2 separate regions of the Homo sapiens genome follow, and region 1 is linked to region 2. Evidence: promoter capture Hi-C in 16 types of primary human blood cells and fetal thymus (Javierre and others, 2016). All regions are on one chromosome and are shown on one strand. Each heading gives the region's core, a stretch centred on a gene start or on the middle of the fragment in contact. The rest is flanking DNA. Distances are from core to core; before and after follow the strand shown. Region 1 has its middle 4.5 kb from the start of DVL3. Region 2 holds the start of VWA5B2 (von Willebrand factor A domain containing 5B2).

The links. Contacts are between HindIII fragments. The CHiCAGO score rates a contact against its expected background, and 5 or more counts as called.
Region 1: a contact is called between a fragment that was not itself captured here and the fragment with the promoter of VWA5B2 in region 2, in 1 of 17 cell types (endothelial precursors). The highest score is 6.0, in endothelial precursors.

Annotation. Positions count from the first base shown.
Region 1 is chr3:184,149,369-184,152,354 of GRCh38, forward strand. It overlaps the pseudogene RPS3P3. Among named protein-coding and RNA genes, the nearest start is that of DVL3, 4.5 kb to the right of the region's middle. The HindIII fragment of the contact is 3,986 bases long and covers 1-2,986 here.
Region 2 is chr3:184,228,255-184,231,136 of GRCh38, forward strand. It overlaps VWA5B2 (von Willebrand factor A domain containing 5B2), which reads left to right and starts at 1,331. Exons shown (of 20, transcript NM_001390846.1): 1 at 1,331-1,459; 2 at 2,126-2,413; 3 at 2,493-2,663. The coding sequence starts at 2,275. RefSeq lists a silencer at 1,099-1,438. The HindIII fragment of the contact is 8,832 bases long and covers 329-2,882 here.

The DNA of each region.
Region 1 (2,986 bases), core at 112-2,611, 79 kb before region 2:
TCAGCCAAGGGTGGTGGTGTGTGCCTGTAGTCCCAGCTACTCGGGAGACTGAGGTGGGAGGATCACTTGTGCCCAGTTCGAGGCTGCAGTGAGCTATGATCACACCACTGCACTCCAGCCAGGAAGACAGAGCAAGACCTTGCCTCCAAAAAAAAAAAAAAAAGGCTGGGTGTGATGTGACTCACACCTGTAATCCCAGCACTTTGGGAGGCCAAGGTTGGCAGAGGATAACTTAAGCCCAGGAGTTTGATACCAGACTGGCCAATGTGGTGAAACCCTGTGTCTATTAAAAATACAAAATTAGGCCTTTCCTTTCAGTGGAGCGTGGCGGCAAGATGGCTGTGCAAATTTCCAAGAAGAGGATGTTTGTCACTGATGACATCTTCAAAGCTGAACTGAATGAGTTTCTTACTCAGGAGCTGGCTGAAGATGGCTACTCTGGAGTTGAGATGCAAGTTACACCAACCAGGACAGAAATCATTATCTTAGCCACCAGAACACAGAATATTCCTGGTGAGAAGGGCTGACGGATTCGGGAACTGACTGCTATAGTTCAGAAGAGGTTTGGCTTTCCAGAGGGCAGTGTAGAGCTTTATGCTGAAAAGGTTGCCACTAGAGGTCTGTGTGCCATTGCCCAGGCAGAGTCTCTGCGTTACAAACTCCTAGGAGGGCTTGCTGTGTGGAGGGCCTGCTATGGTGTGCTGCGGTTCATCATGGAGAGTGGGGCCAAAGGCTGCAAGGTCATGGCGTCTGGGAAACTCCGAGGACAGAGGGCTAAATCCATGAAGTTTGTGGATGGCCTGACGATCCACAGTGGAGACCCTATTAACTACTACGTTGGCACTGCTGTGTGCCACGTGTTGCTCAGACAGGGTGTGCTGGGCATCAAGGTGAAGATCATGCTGCCCTGGGACCCAACTGGTAAGACTGGCCCTAAGAAGCCCCTGCCTGACCACGTGAGCATCGTGGAACCCAAAGATGAGATACTGCCCACCACCCCCATCTCAGAACAGAAGGGTGGGAAGCCAGAGCCATCTGCCATGCCCCAGCCAGTCCCTACAGCATAACAGGGTCTCCTTAGCAGCTGTATTCTGGAGTCTGGATGTTGCTCTGTAAAGACCTTTAATAAAATCTCATACAAAGACAAAAAAATATATACAAAATTAGGGCTGGGCATGGTGGCTCACACCTGTAATCCCAGCACTTTGGGAGGCTGAGGCGGGCAGATCACCTGAGGTCAGGAGTTTGAGACAATCCTGGCCAACATGGTGGAACCCTGTCTCTACTAAAAATACAAAATATTAGCTGGGCATGGTGGTGCATGCCTGTAATCCCAGCTACTCAGGAGGCTGAGGCAGGAGAATCGCCTGAGCCCAGGAGGCAGAGGTTGCAGTGAGCCGAGATAGCTCCACTGCACTCCAGCCTGGATGATAGGGTGAGACTCCTTCTCAAAAAAAAAAAAAAAGAAAAAAAAAGTTAGCCGCATGTGGTGGTGTGCACCTGTAATCCCAGCTACTCAGGAGGCTGAGGCACGAGAATCACTTGAACCCAGGAGGTGGAGATTGCAGTGAGCTGAGACCACACCACTGCACTCCAGCCTGAGTGACAGAGTGAGACTCTGTCTCAAAAAAAAAGAACATTTTAATTACCATTTTTCCGTTTTTTTTTTTCTTTTAGACTGAGTTTTGTTCTGTTGCCCAGGCTGGAGTGCAGTGATGTGGTCTCAGCTCACTGCAATCTCCACCTCCCGGGTTCACGCGATTCTCGTGCCTCAGTCTCCTGAGTAGCTGGGATTACAGGTGCTTACCACCACACACGGCTACTTTTTTGTTTGTTTGTTTTTTTGAGAAGGAGTGTCGCTGTCACCCAGGCTGGAGTGCAGTGGCGTTGGGATTACAGGCATGGACCTGGTCTTAATTCAAGAATTTATTGTTGGCTGGGTACGGTGGTTCACACCTATAATCCCAGCACTTCGATAGGATCGCTTGAGCCAAGGAGTTTGAGGCTGCAGTGAGCCATGATTACCTCACTATACTCCAACCTGAGCAACAGAGCAAGGCCTTGTCTCAATAAACAGGTAAATAAAACAAAGGAGTAAAGTATCCAGGAAACAGATTCAACACAGAGACAGGTAAAGGGAATTTTGAGGATGCAGAGAAGTCCCAGGATGACAGCTGTGCACAGGCTGAGATAGCCGGCGGTGCAGACCAGAGCAAAAGAATGGAAGGTTCCACCAAGCGTGGTGGCTCACGCCTGTAATCCCAGCACTTTGAGAGGCTAAGGCGAGCGATCACCTGAGGTCAGGAGTTCCAGATCAGCCTGGCTAACATGGTGAGACCCTGTCTCTACTAAAAATACAATATTAGCTGGGCGTGGTGGCAGGCGCCTGTAATCCCAGCTACTTGGGAGGCTGAGGCAGGAGAATCACTTGAACCTGGGAGGCAGAGGTTGCAGTGAGCCGGAATCTCGCCACTGCACTCCAGCCTGGGCGACAGAGTGAGACTCCATCTAAAAAAAAAAAAAAAAAAAGATGGAAGCCTCCAGGGAAAAATTGAACTGATGGATTATCTAATAGCTTTGACTGAATGAACAAAATGTGTATTGAGAAACTATTAGATTACATGGGAAAAACTAATGATAGGTATAATATATTAAAACAAATGAAAACACAAGGCAATGATTAAAGTCAGAGGAAACAAAAAAGTTGTAAAGGAAACGATTATAAAACACACATGAGGCCAGCGCGGTGGCTCATGCCTGTAATCACAGCACTTTGGGAGGCCAAGGCAGGTGGATCACGAGGTCAAGAGATTGAGACCATCCTGGCCAACATGGTAAAACCCTGTCTCTACTAAAAATACAAAAATGAGTTGGGCAGGTATGGTGGCACATGCCTGTAATCCCAGCTACTCGGAGGCTGAGGCAGAATTATCGCTTGAACCCGGGAGGTGGAGGTTGCAATGAGCTGAGATCACATCACTGCACT
Region 2 (2,882 bases), core at 81-2,580:
GGTACGTGTGACTGTGTCTGTGCTCCCTGTATCATTCCTGTGCATTTCCACCCATGAAATTCCCTGGGAAAAGGTCAAGCTCTCTCCACCATGCTAAGTAGGGTGAGCAAAGGAGATGGTTGGGGTTGAGGGCTCAGATACTCAAGGAGGCAGGGATCCCCCGGGGGGATGATCCCTGGTGATAGTGATTGAAATCAGAAGGAGAGAGTTAATGCGGAGGAGTGAGAACCATGGGCCCGACTCGAAAGCTCACTTCCTACTGGCTGTCCTCCATCCCCAGCTCTCCTCAAGCTCTCTCTGCAGAATCTCAGTATGGCATCTGCCAAAAAGCTTACATGGATGATCCCCAAACATGGTCATCTCCTCTCACTTCCCCAGGGCTCTCAGACTCTTCCTTGGGGGACCTGGGAGAGGTTTTCCGGACCTTCCTACTTTTTGACAGCATAACACTGTCAAGCACATGCAAAGTCTGCCAATAACAAGGGGCCCTCCTGACAAGCAGAGATGTTTTCTCTTCAGGGCTGCGGTGATGGGTGGGGGTCACTGCTATGAGGGGACGGTCTGCAGCCATAAGAAGGCTCTTCAGGCTAGAAGGCTTCACTCCCAAGGCCCGCACAGCTGAAGAGACCAAGGGGTTATAGGCTGAGGGCGCTATTGTGCACACCCTCCCACCCCAGCAGAAGTGGTTGGCACTGCAGCGATGCCAAGGCCGGCTGCTTGGGGGTGGGAGGAGGTCGCTGCAGTGATGAGGAATCCCTGCTTGGAGTGAGTGGTCACTGAAGTGGCTGCATGAACTAAAAGTACCTGCAGGGATGGGGGAGGTTTTCTGCAGTGATGAAGAGCACTTTGCAAAGGAAAGGGGCCAGCTTCTTGGGGGAAGAGTCCTGCGGTGACGGTGATGGGGGGCTGGGGGGTTCGCTGCAGTCAGGAGGGAGGGTCTCTGCAGCGATGGGAAGCAACCCAGGGCAGGGGGTGGGGTGGGCTGGGGAATGGGATGCCGTCGTGGTAATGGGATAGCTGGGGTCGCGGCAGTGTCGGTGGCACTTGCAGGACGCCTGATTCCTGAAGAATGGAAAGGGTGGGGTCTCTGAGGCCTCGGTCCTGCAGTGACGGGGATCCGTGCGGCGGCGGGGACGCGGTCCCTGCACTGCGGTGCCCAGTCTGGCTCGGGCTGCCGCGGCTGGCGCGGAGGCGGTACCGCGCCCGAAGGAGGGGGGAGCGCCAGCCCCGCCGCAGCAGCAGCAGGCGTGGCCAGGGCAGGCTGGAGGGGCGGCCTCTCGGAACGGGGGCGGGACCACCGCCGGCAGGGCCCGCGCCCCTGCCGGGACTCAGAGCCGCTGCAGCCACAGTCACGAACTGGCGGCCGGCAGGTGCCGGGACCGAGGGCCACCCGGAGCGCAGAGGCGGCACCACCCACACGGATCCCGTGGGCACCTAGAACTCCGCGGAGGGCGCGACGGTGAGGCTGAGACTGCCACAGGGAGCGGGGCGATCCCCAGAGCCAGCCCGCGGCATCCCCTGCGCGGGCCGCGGCCACTGCAGGTGCCCCCTCCTCCCACATCAGCTCTGCCGGGGTAGGGAGCGGTAACCTGGCGGCTCCCACGGACTCTCCCTGGCCCGACACCTCTCCCGGGCTTGCCTCCCAAAGACCCCCTCTTTTCGCTTTCCCAGCTCGTTCTTCCCACCCTTAACCCCTCCACTCCGGCCAGCACCCCCGTCGGATGAGGCACCAGGGAGAGAAAGACCAAGGCCCTTTCGGCGCCCCATCCACCCTGCCCCCGCGATCCCTCGCAGGGCCGGGGGCCTCCGGGGGGATTCGGGCCCTTTAAACCTCCGCCTTCCCGGAGCATCTTCCATCTCCACCCGCGCCGCTTCCGACAGCTGGCGGCCGCGGGGGGCCCCGGGGGGCCGGCAGGTACGGGGGTGGCTGCGAGGTTGGGAGTGGGCGGTGGAACAGCTGTGACCGCCCCCACCCCCGGGGGAGCCGCGGCGGGACTGCTGGGCGCCGAAGCGCGCGTTAATCATTAACCCTCCGCGGCCCGGCTGCCCAGGTAACGCGTGAGGATGCCCTCCTCGCCACCACGCCTGCCGCCCCCTTATCTCCCCCGCCACCTGTCGCCCTCAGGAGCTCCCGCTCGGCCTCGCGCCCCGGCAGGCCCCGTCCGGGTGCTGGAGTGAGACTCTCGCGCTGGCCTCTGGAGCGCGGGGTGGGCGTCCCGTCACCCTGCGCCCAGCTTCCCCGGCCCGTTCCCGCAGGGCCGGCCTCCCGGCGCCATGCCCGGCCTGTACTGCCCCTCCAGCTGGACGCCGCTGCCGCTCACGGACTCCTGGGTCCGGGCCTGCGCCAACGGCCCCTGCCTCAGCGTGCGGGCCCGGCTCACCTACCGCAACCCGCAGCCGCAGCCGGTGGACGGTGAGGCCCGGGTGGGGCGCGGGCGCGGCGGGGGGTGCGCCGGGCAGGGTCCGACGCCGCCTCCCGCCGCCCTCCCCAGGCGTGTTCGTGTACCCGCTGGCCGAGGCCGAGGTGGTGTCCGGCTTCGAGGCCGAGGCCGCCGGACGGCGCGTCTCCTTCCAGCTGCAGAGCCGGCGCCGCTCGCAGGCCGCCTGCTGCCGCGCTCTGGGCCCGGGGCTGGGGACCCCGACGCCCCGCCGCTGCGCGCAGGGTGAGTTCCGCGCGCCCGCACCCGCGCTCCTGAAAGCCGGGCGCAGCTCAGGCTCCCGCATCCGCTCGGCCTCCGCCCGTCCCCCGCCTTCCTCCGGGCACTGCCTTGTGCATTCATTGGCTCATCCTGGTATTTAGCAGTCGTGGGCTGGGCACCTGACCTGCGCCAGGTGCTGGGAGAACATGGCCCGGAGGTTCACAGCCTGGGAGACAGACACAG